3 separate regions of the Homo sapiens genome follow, and all the other regions are linked to region 1. Evidence: promoter capture Hi-C in 16 types of primary human blood cells and fetal thymus (Javierre and others, 2016). All regions are on one chromosome and are shown on one strand. The core of a region is centred on a gene start or on the middle of the fragment in contact, and the rest is flanking DNA. Distances in the headings are between cores, read along the strand shown. Region 1 holds the start of WDPCP (WD repeat containing planar cell polarity effector). Region 2 holds the start of PAPOLG (poly(A) polymerase gamma). Region 3 holds the start of USP34 (ubiquitin specific peptidase 34).

Region 1 (4,392 bases), core at 850-3,349:
AATGCTCTGTTTGTTGCCTTAACAAAAAATGAATGTCTGCAACACATTCACAAACCACCTGGAGATTCAAACTCACAGTGAAAGTGCAATGACATATTGTGCTACTTGACATTAGCTATTACCAAAGACGGTTCAAAAGGAAGAGAACACAGACAATCTTATTAGTATAATTGGAAATGTGCTGATATACCCACCTTACCAAACATCTTCTCTTGCAGTGTATTATATTACCTGAGAAAAGTAACTTACAATCAGTGCTAATATGCTCCTTAACCTGATTTACAAGGGCAACTAGCAATAAACAGAACAAGGCCCGTGAACTACCACACAGGTGACTTCAATTCTGTATATCTGGACTGGATGGGAATACGGGGGCTTACATGTTTGTGGCCTTCTTGGAGTATGGGAATGTCCTGTCCTGCTATAGGACTGCAGTGAGAATTCTGGTTATAAAAAGTCTCCCTTGTAAAATTCACTGTAAATCGAGGACAAAAATCATGAGATTGTTTTGTTATACTTTAAGTTCTAGGGTACATGTGCACAACGTGCAAGTTTGTTACATATGTACGTATACATGCCATGTTGGTGTACTGCACCCATTAACTCGTCATTTACATTAGGTAAAATCATGATATTTTTAAGGACAACAACATGGAAAAATCTTTCTGTTAGCAGCTAGTAGAAGAATTCATTTAGGAGGATAATGGAAGAAATTTTTCGTAACTGCTCAGAGTAAAAAGTAAAACTCAGAGAACCTAGGTTTGAGAATAATGCACACCTACTAATTCAGGACTAGACACATAAATTTGAGAGTTTTTGACATTAAAAGTAGCATTTGAAGTGATGCAACTTATGAATTAGCTCACTGAGGGATTTAGTATAGACAGAGAATACAGGCACCCCAATGTTAAGAGATCACAACTAAAAAAAATTTAGAAACTCCGCAGAACTGAGAACCAGTAACAAAAGAGGAAAACCAGGAAAGTATGTTGTCTGAGAGCCAAATGAATAAAGAGATACAAGGAGAGTCATTCAGGTATGATATTAATAAATGCTAAAAGTAAAGCATTACATTTCTTTCCAAAAATAGCAAATCCTCCAAACTGAAATAGAGAAAAATTGAAAGATATTACTTGGCATTCATTTATCAGTGACAGAGAAAAAACGGAAGTTCTAACAATGTTATCTAATAGAGATGTTTTATTCATTTTCATTACGTATATGCTGTGTATGCTACTCCCGAGCATCATATCTTCCTTTTAACATCCACAAGAAACAAGCTTTCAAAAAGCACAGCAATTCTCTTGGCAGCATTAATTTTAAAGAGAACCTCTTAAGTTGTTTTACCAGCTGAGACTGACTGACTAAACAACCAGTGTCTCCCCTTCAGTCGCCAGTCTTTCCTTAGAAATGCCTGTTTGGCATAACTTTAAGACTCAAGATGGTTTAAGGCGCATCCTGTTTCTTCCAAAAGGGAATGGACAAAACTCAACATTCACGGAGGGCTTAGAGCAAATTAGAACCGTATACTGTGACCTCCTGGAAGGGAGAGGCTCACCTCCTACAAAGTAAATGCTCAATAAATATTTTTGATATAACTCTGGAAGAGCTCCATTTGGGGTCGGGGGTGCACCTACTCCAGGGCACCACCCCCTCCAAAATAGCTGCATTCCCACAGCCCTCATACTCCGCTCAGAAAAGGGACCGGCGAGCTTGCAGGCATCCGCACAGCGGATAAAAGCAAAGCGGGACGGCGCACCAACCGCATTCCGGATCCTAAGGTTAAAAGAAAACCCCTTGCCCTCGGGCCAGGGCTCACCTGTCTCGGGAGTGGGGAAGAAGCGCGACTCCCGGCCGCTTTGGAGTAGGCGTCCCAGCAAAACTCTCGCCTCATCACCAGACACTACCCCGGGCAGAAGGTTCCTAGGCTAGGTCCTCGGACCCGAGAGGGAGCGACACGCTCGCTTGGTCTCTTGGGTCTCCAGGACGCCGCCGCCGCCGCCACAGTTTCCTCAGGTGCTACAAAGCAGCCAGGGTGTGCGTGCGCTCCCGCCTCGTCGCTTAGCAACCTGAGAAGCTGTCCGGTCGTCCCAACTTATCAATTCCCCCGCCCCTCCAGAGTGTCAATCGTTTTTTAAAAGATTTTGTTTCCGGGTCGATCCAGCTTTACGCAGCGGAAGGTCTCTTTACCTCCCACGTTTACCCTCATGGGAGGATGCAGTCTCAGTCACGCGCGTGGGGGTGATGTCGCTAAGGGGTGATTCTCCCCTCCCTAGAGTTACACACGCTATCTCTCCCGCCAATTGCCGGGCTCCATCAGGCAGGTCCTTTCCTCCTGAGCCCAAACCATCCGTTTGTTGTCGTCCTCCAATCACAGGGGCTCATCCTCAGGGACTACTTTGCAATCGGCGCAGAGCGCAGTGAGAAGAGCTTGAAAAAAACCTCTGGTATCGGGAAGTGTAGTTCAACACTTGAAGGAAATGCTTTGGAGATTGCGCCACAACCAGGGCAGCGTAAACTACAGTTCCCAGAGAGCGCCGCGTCGGGAGCGGAGCCTTTTCTCGCTAACACCGCTCGCCCTCTCCGAGTCAGTTCCGCGGTAGAGGTGACCTGACTCTCTGAGGCTCATTTTGCAGTTGTTGAAATTGTCCCCGCAGTTTTCAATCATGGTGAGTGTGGGCCCCGGGTTCCTGCCCACCTCTGGCCCTCGCGCCCTTGAGTGGGGTTTCTTGCACTTTAGGGACTTTTGGGAGGCAGCTGTGCAAGGCACTGTCCTTCGCGCCCTTTGGCAAGCTCGGACTCATCTTCTGGGGATTGCCGCAGTGACCCAGTAATGGGAAGGGATTGATTTCCACCTTGCGGGGTATGGGGCGCTCTTAGGAGGACTCTGGAGAAGTAGTTGTCCTGGGAGAGGAGCGATCTTAATCCTGCTGCATGACGGGAGGACAAAATGCGACGCTGCAGCTATTTTCCAAAGGACGTTACGGTGTTTGATAAGGACGATAAGGTTTGCGATGGGAGGGAAAGGTTGGGTCCTAACCCCTTTTTCTCCTCATTTGCCCACAGTGTTTATAACGGCTTTTGTCACAGGGACCTTGAAAGCAAAAAGCTGGAAAGGTAGTATTTACCAGGTGCTCCAGATTACGATCTGCGTTTGCAGCAGACGTGTTTCCGCCATATCTAATTTCTCAAAATGTTATTTGGAACCCGTTCATTGACCTTTTTTGTAATGCCAGGATATATTGAAGTGACAGCATCACTAACTAAATAACTACTGCAAATATTCTTTATTGAACTGTATATTGTGAATTCCAGAAGCACCTCTCTTAAATGTAACAGAGTAACCATTTTGTCATGGAAGACCTGGGTAACCTGCATCTCCATCGCTTGTCTCTGCTGAAAGAGAGGGGGAGGGGGAGAGTTGGTGAAGGAACTCTGGCGTAGGAATAATCTGCGTACTGCTTGAAGGTGACATTTGTCATCAAACTCAGAGAAATCGCTTCATACTATCAATACAATGGCTTGTATTTATAGTTGCGACTGTTTTTCCTACTTTATCTGCAAAATACTAAAACGGCTGGAGAATGTGGAGAAATGTTTGAATGAATTGGAAATTTCCCAGAACCTGAAAAGACACGTTTTCAAGGCAAGGGCATTACTCTCTCTGCCTGTCTAACGGGGCCAGTGGAGACAGCTACTAATTTCCAGTAGGTGTTAAACCTAGGTTTCCTAAATGTTTTGTCACATAATTAGTCATTTAAATTATGGTTTCGGTAGTTTCTGTCCTAATAACCTTAGCTAGAAAGCAGAGGTACTTATTATCTGATAACCTTGGACTTTTTGCTTTTAGAACTGAATGGGATCTTTTAAAGGTCATCTTGACGAATCTCCCCACTTCAGATCTTAAAATGGAGTTTATCGAGACCCAAAGAGAATGTGATTTGCTCCAAGAGTCTCACACTCTTGCCATTTTTCTATATTGTGTCTTACACTTACCAAGTCTTTCTGAATTTTTATTTTTATAGGGACCACCGCAGTGAGGTCTCGCAGCGGGGGAGAGACAGTGTACTCAACTCCCTGAAAACTTATTTTTACTAGCTGAGATTCCGGATGAAGTTACCAGTTCATACTGCATATACAAACTCAAATATGTTATCAGCATGTAGATTACTTGATAGCTTTATTCCTTGCCATTCAAAATACTGGAATTGTAGAATTAAAAGGGAATTTGGAGATTATATTATCTACTCTTATAATGTAGTCTGGTGAGGTCAGATAATTTTCCCAAGGTCACAGAGATTTTGGGCCCCAGATTCTTAGCTAGTTTCCCTAGCAAGGCCCCACCGTTGGAAGGTCACTGGGGTGCCAGATAACACAGAGACAGAACATGAG
Region 2 (4,392 bases), core at 1,110-3,609, 2.8 Mb before region 1:
TTAACTTAACAAATACAGTTACAATATACACTGCAAATAAGAAAAATGTCCTTATTGAAATTGGGGTTGGGAAAAATACAGTATCCTTATTGAGATGGGGGTTAGGGACTGTCATTAAATCCCAGGTAGATTAACAAAGACAGGAAAATGGGAAGAAAAGCAATTGATTAAAACACCGTGGCCGGGCATGGTGGCTCACGCCTGTAATCCCAGCACTTTGGGAGGCTGAGGCTGGCGGATCACGAGGTCAGGAGTTCAAGACTAGCCTGACCAATATGGTGAAACCCTGTCTGTACTAAAAATACAAAAATTAGGCTGGAAGCGGTGGCTCACGCCTGTAATCCCAGCACTTTGGGAGGCTGAGATGTGCGGCCAACATGGTGAAAGTCCATCTCTAAAATACAAAAAATTAGCCAGGCGTGGTGGCGCACGCCTGTAGTCCCAGCTACTCGGGAGGCTGAGACAGGAGAATCATTTGAACCCAGGAGGCAGAGGATGCAGTGAGCCAAGATCATGCCACTGTGCTGCAGCCTAGGTGACAGAGCAAGACTCCATCTCAAAAATAAATAAATAAATAAATAATAAAACACTGCTTGGCTGGGTGTGGTGGCTCACATCTGTAATCCTAGCACTTTGGGAAGCCGAGGTGGGCGGATTACCTGATGTCAGGAGTTTGAGACTAGCTGGCCCACATGGTGAAACCCCGTCTGTACTAAAAATACAAAAATATAGCTGGACGTGGTGGTGCATGCCTGTAATCCCACCTACTCAGGAGGCTGAGCAGAGATCACGCCACTGCACCCCAGCCTGGGCAACAGAGCGAGACTCCATCTCAAAAAAACCTCTGCCTCTCGGGTTCACGCAATTCTCCTGCCTCACCCTGCTGAGTAGCCGGGATCACAGGCGCACCACGCACCCAGCTAGTTTTTCTATTTTTAGTAGAGATGGGGTTTCACCATGTTGGCCAGGCTGGTCTCGAACTCCTGACCTCAAGTGATCCACCCGCCTCAGCCTCCCAAAATGTTAGGATTACAGGTGTGATCCACCACACCAGGCCACGTCAGGTTTTTGTTGTTGCTTTTAAGTAGAGATGGGTTTTTGCCATGTTGGCCAGGCTGGTCTTAATAGAACTCATGGCCTCAAGTGATCCACCAGCCTTGGCGTCACAAAGCACTGGGATTGCAGGCAAGAGCCACTGCACCTTGCTCAGGTTTTCAAAAATATGTTTTGTAGTTTTTATTTATTTATTTATTTATTTATTTTTTTGAGACAGGGTCTCCTTCTATCACTCTGGCTGGAATGCAGTGGTGCCATCCTGGTTTCCTGCAGCCTCCACGTCCTGGACTCAAAGAGATCCTCCCACCCCAGCCTCCTGAGTAGCTGGGACTACAGGCATGGGCCACCATGCCCAGCTAATTTTTTTAAAACTTTTTGTAGTGACAGGGTCTCACTATGTTGCCCAGGCTGTTCTCGAACTCCTGGCCTCAAGCAATTCTCCCACCTTGGCCTCCCAAAGTGCTGGGATTACAGGTGTGAGCCACTGTATCTTGCCTCAATAAATATTTTTTAATGAATTAATCAGCAAGTAATCTCCTCTATTTACTGTGACTCTGAGTTATGTTCAAGAGCAAGCAGTTCTTGACTTCCTTTTCTTTGTAATGATTTAGTGCTTGAAATTACTTCTACCTTTCAGCATTTTAAAATTGGTTATTATTTTCTCATTTTCATCCCCACACTCACATCGAACATGATTTCCACTATTTAAAAGTGTAAGATTTTTGTTTCAGCCTGGGATTTATCCTATTGCAAACTGCTAGCTACTATTTTCAACCTCTGTCAGCTAAATGCCAGAATGTCACTAATCAAAGGTGGTACTTAGGGGTGAAGTGAACAGTTAAGCCTCCAATTTACAAGCTTGTTTTTCCCTGGGATACTTGTGTGAAAGTCGTATGTTCCTGGGTGTGACCCTTTCGAGACAAAATCTCAACTGGTGAGTTAATTATGTATAACTATAATTAAATCAAAGATGTAGGATAACGGAGGCGTTGAAATAGTTTTTGCTAGGCAAGGGTGTGACCTTTTTAAAAAATGTATGATATATGCTGCCATTCGAGAGGCAAGGAAAACATATCTCCAAATTTCCTTCCAAGCGGTCTACCGGCATTGACAGTACCGCGGACAAAGGAGAGTACCAAATAAATACTCCTTCGAACCAACGGTATACTGAGAGCCCTGAGCTTGTGGGCGGGGCCCCGGAGCCTCCCGGGACCTAAAGGCAGAGGGGGCGTGGCTGAGGGTGGTCCAGACCTCCAGGGGCGGGGCTGAGACCTGCGAGAGGCAGGCTGGGAAGCGGCGCCATATTGGCGTCGGCCGCGCTGTATTGTCATAAATAGAGCCGGTTTTGTGGTGTTTTCACTACTCGGTTGGATGCCTCAGCCATAGTAAGTGGGAAAGTGAGCGAGCAAGCGAGCTACTAGCGACCGGAGGAAAGTGAACAGGGGGAGAAGGGAACAGCAAGAACAGGACTCCAGAGCGATAAACACTCGCTGGAGAGGGAGACGCAGGAAGCGATGAAAGAGATGTCTGCGTAAGTGGTGGGGGGCGGCGGTTGGGGTGAGGCGGGTAGGGGTGAGCTGAGGTGGTCCGACTGTGTCCTTGTTTCCGTTCCCTGTCCCTTGCGCCCTGCACGCAGCTCGCCGGGATGGTCTCCTTCCCGGCTCCCGGCCGGTCCGCAAGGGCACCTCCCCTAAACCCGGCGGCTCACCTGGCCACCCCTGCACGGACTCGGGGACTCCGGGAGTCCCCAGCTGTCCCGCCTCCGAGGACGCCCTCAGAAAAGGATGAGGAGGGAAAGAGGTGCCTGTGTCCGTAGGGAGAAATTGTCGGTCACTCGCCTGCCCCCAGCACTGTCTGAGCCCGTCTGCTCCTGTCTGCATTGGCGCAAATACCATCCCCCTGCCTCCCCCTCCTCCCTTCCCGACCGGCTGTCTCCAGGTCTTCAGGAGTGAAAGACCTATCGCAGCCCAAGGGTTTCTCTTTCATATGAGGCTACAGTCTTTTCACCGCCGTCCCCACCCTCTCCCTCACCCCCTGCTTCCCCACCTACCCACAACATCTACCGGTCTGTACCTCTTGTTCACACTTTGATAAGTCAGAAACAGTTCCCGTACTTGGCAAGATTTTGTTGTAGCTTCTTCCATTTTGGTCTATTAGGAAATAATTTAAACATGCAGAAAAATGTAGAGAATAACATAAGCATCATTTGTGGAGCCACCACCCATTTCTCCCAAAACGTAACTGTACACACATACACGTACATGCACACACGCACACACACGGTGTGTATATACGTATCTGTGTATTTATTTTAAAAAGAAATCAAGCATTCCAGATACATCTGAAGGACTCTCCTACCTCCTTCTCTGGTCCCAATCATCTCTTGCTCCAGATGTCTCCACAGTCTTGAATTTGATGTTTATCGTTGCTGCCTGTTTTTTATTTTACTTCTTTTTTTTCCGCCCTCGAATCATGGGAGCTGCATGTTTTTTAATGCTATTACTACATACACATGTGTTCATAATAACTGGCATAGTTCTAGTTGTTTTTAAACTTTATATAACTCGTATCACACTTGGAATTCTGTAACTTCTTTAGCACAACATAGTATCTCTGAGCTTTGTTCATGTTAGTATTTTAGTTGTAATTAATTAATATTAATTATTGTATTGTATTCTATTGTAGGAAAACACCCTAATTTAATTCTTTTCCTGTTAGTGACTATTTTATTTCTAAGTTTTTAATGTTACAATGTGACAGTGAACGTTCTTTTAGGTGTCTCTTTGTACGCTTGTAACTAGAATTTCTCTAGGTTGTTTGCCTGTAAGTGAAATTGATGGTTTGAAGGGAATGTGGGATTCTGTTGTTTACTTTCCCCTCCCCTCTAGATGGGGGAAGTTCAGAACCTGGATTTGGAATTTTAGGGCCAGTAGGCTAGTTGGCCAACTTTGTCAGCATACAGGTAAAAAAGTGAGGCCCGTCATCATGGTGTCAGAGCTGAAGTAGTTAGAGAGGAGAGAATGGAGTAGTGGAAAGAGGTTTTGGAGTTCAGATTCTGGCTTGTCCTCTCTTTGACTTTCAGGTACTTATCTGTAAAATGGCACTTATTCAATACCCCTTAGGATTATTGCGATTGAGTGATACTATATAGATATGTAGATAATTACTCTGTCCTATTCACTTACCGTATATATTTACATATGTATTACACAAACAATACCAAAACACTGCTCTAGCTTTCTCAGAGGTAAAAAGCCAAATCTTTAAAAAGAAATTACCACTTGAAATAACTAATTGAAGTTTTGTTTGTTCTACAACAAAATAAATACAGAAGAT
Region 3 (4,392 bases), core at 560-3,059, 2.1 Mb before region 1:
GATTAACTTTCCAAGTTGAGCGTAACAATCATAATCACACGACTTGTATGTGAGATATAAAACACAGTAAGTATTGAGGATTTAAGTTTATCATATCGTAAACCGCCTGCGCCAGAAATAAAAGTATCTCAAAATACACACAAATAATCTTAAAATTCTAGGATAATTTAGGGTGACACAAATACTGGAACCTCTAGTTGGAATATGTGCAAAAGCCTATTCCACCTATCAGGAAGTAAATACGGAGTTGAAATTAAGTTAGAACCCTTCCACTTTTATTATTGTCTTTGGTCATTAAAGTGACAGTCAAACACAAATACCATGGTACATTTTATAAATCAACTGTTTTAGCGAATTGTATTACAAAATTAGATAGTCTGAAAGTCTGTGGAAATATCACAAACAGAATACAAATCCAAAACCCACATAAACTGTTCATAAGTGAGCATTTTTTCAACAATCAACTTTTTGTAAATTGATCCCTTCATCTAATTCACCTCTGCCAACTAGGCCTTTACGCCCAGAAGTAGTTGATTTGCAATATATCTTCTATAAGCTGAAATACCATCTTGCAAGGGTCGAGAATAAAATAAAAAGGCCAGAAAAGATCAACGTACCCTTTTTAATAATAAAAAGTAAAGTACCAGGTAAAAGGCCTTTCCTTCCAAGAGAGATAGGCCATAACTATCCCGGGATGGTATGTGTAGTACAGTGCTCTGCTTAACAGAATGTACCATTAAAGCGGTGAATGCTACACTAAGAAACATCATTAACAAATTTATTTTAAAAATAGGTATGAAGGTTCCAATCATCACTATCACAGTTCGTTTTCAGCTATTTAAGGTCTGGCTGAAGTGTTTAAGACACCCACAAACCCGCAAGGGAGGGAAAAACCACCACCCTGCTCCCGGGAGTTTAATGAAAATTAGCAGGTAAGAGAGGCCTCGGCAGCACGCTGGAAATCAAAGAGGGCGGCCGGAGGATTTGGACTGCGGAGGAAAGCCTCGTCCTCCGACCCCACCTCCCCGCACCTTCCCGGCAGGGCGAAGGAGGCGAAGGCGGCGAGGGGTTCATTACTGCCTTCATTAATTGACACCTGTAATGAGGAAACTTTCCGAGAGCCCAGAGCGCCCGGGCCAGGCCGAGCCGGAGCTCCGCGGCGGCCGCCTCTCGGGCGCCCAGGTAACCCGGCCGGGCTGGGCCCGAGGCGCCGCGGCGGCCGCGCCACCGCGCACCTTCCCGGGGCGCTAGGCCCGCACGCCGCCCGGCCCGGCCGTCGCCTCCCGCAGGCCGCGGCAGCCCGGGGAGGCCAGAGAGCTGCGCGAGGACCCCAAACCGTGCACCCCGACAGGCCGCTACCGCGGCTACTTACTTTCATTTAACACCTCCACCAGGTCTGCGCAGTTCTCGCACATCGTTCGGCCGCCGCCCCCCCCCTCCCCCGCTTCGGATCACACTGACTGATCCCGACCGGCGGGGGGGAGGGGAGAGAGGCGGAGGAGGGGGCCGGCCGGCCGGCGGGGCGGGGAGGCGACTAGGGCGGGCGGCGGCGGGGACGGGGCGGGGAGCAAGAGAATGGGGGAGGGGGCCGGCGGTCCCCGCAGCGGGAGGGGGAGAGGAGGGGAGCGAGGGGAGGTGCGCAGGCCGGAGGGGCGCCGAGGCGCCGGCGGCGGGGAAGGGGGGGAAGGACGGGGGGAGGGGAGAGGGGGGGAGGGGGCGGGTGGGGAGAGAAGCAGCAGAGTCACTTCACCGACCAGACGCCGCGGCCACCGCCGACGCCGCCGCCATTTTAACAGAGCGCTCGGGCTGCGCTCGGCTCTTTCCGCCCGGGCTTAGGAGCGGACGAGAGGCGCCTCGCGCTCTCATTCCTCCGCCTCCCTCCCTTTCTCGCCTCTCCTCCGCCCCCCACCTCTCCCTCCGCACACACGCCGCACGCTCCACACCCCGCCGTGGCCGGCTCGCCGCCCTCCCTTTCCTCTTCCGTCCGGCCTCCCCGCCCTCGGTCCACCCCCTCCGCGCGCTCGCCCACCCCGCCCAGCCCGGATCTCTGTCAGCGGCCGGAAGGGAAACGCGAAGCCAGCGCGGCCGCGGGGGGAGTCCGGGTGAGTAGGAGAAGATGGCGGAGGCAACGGACGGGTCGCGGTTGCGTGGCGTCGCCCACCACGACCCACTCCACGGGCTCTGAGGCCCGGGGAGCGCCAGGTCACTCGCTCCGTCCTGTCCCCCGCCCCTGGGCTTCGCCATTTTTCCCCAGGGCCTGGGTCGGGGAGTTGGTGCGGGTTTCTTTGGTGTCCCCGGCCTCTTCCGCGCTTAGGCTTTTGGGGTACGGGAAGCAAGGAGTCAACTTGGGTGCCGGGCCGGGTCTACGCCGTAGCCCTCTTTCGGGCGCAAGGGCCACTCCCCCCGGGGTCTGAGAGTGAATCAGCCCAGGGCCCGGCTTAACTGCATCGGTGATTATCGCTACCCTGCAGTTCCTTGAAGGTCCTCCGTCCTGGAGCAGTAAGATCCTTGACGTAACTAGAAATGGCAGGGTAAGGAGTGTTTGCCTGACATCGTCTCGTTTTTACGGAAGAGGGCCCCTCACGATGTGCCCATCAGCCCCACCTGAAATAGCAAGAAATCTTCTTCAGCAGAGAGCGAATAACAAGGATATTAAGATAAAGAACAGGTGAAGGGGGCAGTCAGCTGAAGCTTGTAAGGGAATTTTCCTCACGCCGGCACTTACCCCTTGCTTGCTAATTTTTGTGTTCAACGTGTTTACATAGACATGTGACTGCAAAGTCCGAAAGATCGTGTACAGAATCTCTGAACGGTAACCAGAGTGTCTGTCAAGGCTCTGTAGTCATTCTCTCGATAGCTTTTGTGGAGGTTATGGCACGCCCATCTCTCCATGCCAGAACCACCTGGTTCCAAATGCTTTGCCTTTCTGCTGCTTGAAGTTGATACTATAAACAGTCTGCCCAACCCGTTTTGTTTCCCACTAGCAGGTGATCCTTAGGATTGTAGTTCTATTCTACCATCATCTTCCCTTCTTCCTTGTCTTTCTCACAGAATTGGGTTTTTGCAGACTTACTTTGGATCCTGAGGCAGACATTCGTTGTCCACTCAACATACATTCCCACGTATCCCTTTTTTCCCTGCCAACACAACCCCAATTATTTTTATTTGAATTTTTTTTTTTTGAGACAAAGTCTCACTCTGTCGCCAAGGTTAGAGTGCAGTGGTGCGATCACAGTTCACTACAGCCTCCACTTTATGGGCTCAAGGGATCCTCCCACTTCCCTAGTAGCTGGGGCTACAGGCGCTCTCCACCACACGTAACTAATTGTTTTTTATTTTTAGTAGGGACAGGGTCTTGCTATGTTACCCAGGCTGGTCTCAAACTCCTGGCCTCAACTGATCCTCCGGCCCAAAATGTTAGGATTACAGGTATGAGCCAACGTGCTGGTCTCACGTTTTTTCAGGTAGCAGTTGAAACCAACCATCATGGTGATCTGGCTTTTCTAGGGCTGGCCATACATAATTGAGTTCCTCCTGATAAAAGGTAAGCAACAATCCTGAGAAACATAGTGGGAGCCCTGTGTCTACAAAAATTTAAAAGGTGGCTGGGCGCGTTGGCTCACTCCTGAAATCCCGCACTTAGGGAGGCTGAGGTGAGCAAATCACCTGAGGTCGGGAGCTCTAGACCGGCCTGACCAACATGGACAAAGCTCATCTCTGCTAAAAATACAAAATTAGGCATGGTGGTGCATGCCTGTAATCCCAGCTACTCAGGAGGCTGAGGCAGGAGAATCGCTTGAACCCGGGAGGCAGGGGTTGCGGTGAGCCGAGATCGCGCCATTGCACTCCAGCCTGGGATAAGAGTGAAACTCCGTCTCATAAAAAAAAAAAAAAAAAAAGGCCAGGCATGGTGGTTCATGCCTGTAATCCCAGCGCTTTGGGAGGCCGAGGCGAGAAGATCACTAAATCAGGAGATTGAGACCATCCTGGCTAACACGGTGAAACCCCGTCTCTACTAAAAATACAAAAAATTAGCCAGGCATGGTGGTGGGCGCCTGTAGTCCCAGCTACTTGGGAGGCTGAGGCAGGAGAATGGCATGAACCCAGGGAGCAAAGCTTGCAGTGAGCTGAGATCGCGCCACTGCACTCCAGCCTGGGCGACACAGCAAGACTCCGTCTCAAAAAAAAAAAAAAAAAATTACCTGGTCGTGGTGGCTCACGACTATAATCATAGTACTTTGAGAGTCCAAGGCAGATGGATTGCTTGAGCCTGGGAGTTCTACATCAACCTGGGCAACATGGCAAAAGTCCATCTCCAGTACATAAGAAAATTAGTGGAATGTGGTGGTGCACACCTGTAATCCCAGCTACTGGGGAGGCTGAGGTGGGAGG

What was found. The method cuts DNA at HindIII sites, captures the fragments that hold promoters and counts their contacts. A CHiCAGO score of 5 or more calls a contact.
Region 2: a contact is called between the fragment with the promoter of PAPOLG here and the fragment with the promoter of WDPCP in region 1, in 2 of 17 cell types (total CD4 T cells and naive CD4 T cells). The highest score is 6.5, in total CD4 T cells.
Region 3: a contact is called between the fragment with the promoter of USP34 here and the fragment with the promoter of WDPCP in region 1, in 1 of 17 cell types (monocytes). The highest score is 5.3, in monocytes.

The regions. Positions count from the first base shown.
Region 1 is chr2:63,586,378-63,590,769 of GRCh38, forward strand. WDPCP (WD repeat containing planar cell polarity effector) reads right to left here and starts at 2,100. Exons shown (of 18, transcript NM_015910.7): 1 at 1,820-2,100. The coding sequence starts at 1,894. MDH1 (malate dehydrogenase 1) reads left to right here and starts at 2,586. Exons shown (of 9, transcript NM_005917.4): 1 at 2,586-2,669. The coding sequence starts at 2,667. RefSeq lists enhancers at 1,265-1,785, 2,297-2,616. The HindIII fragment of the contact is 5,833 bases long and covers 1,279-4,392 here.
Region 2 is chr2:60,753,909-60,758,300 of GRCh38, forward strand. It overlaps PAPOLG (poly(A) polymerase gamma), which reads left to right and starts at 2,360. Exons shown (of 22, transcript NM_022894.4): 1 at 2,360-2,587. The coding sequence starts at 2,571. RefSeq lists an enhancer at 2,276-2,585. The HindIII fragment of the contact is 3,911 bases long and covers 1,913-4,392 here.
Region 3 is chr2:61,469,278-61,473,669 of GRCh38, forward strand. USP34 (ubiquitin specific peptidase 34) reads right to left here and starts at 1,810. Exons shown (of 80, transcript NM_014709.4): 1 at 1,373-1,810. The coding sequence starts at 1,415. USP34-DT (USP34 divergent transcript) reads left to right here and starts at 1,819. Exons shown (of 3, transcript NR_185882.1): 1 at 1,819-2,102. RefSeq lists silencers at 1,132-1,551, 1,642-1,721, 1,752-2,061. The HindIII fragment of the contact is 6,929 bases long and covers 1-2,689 here.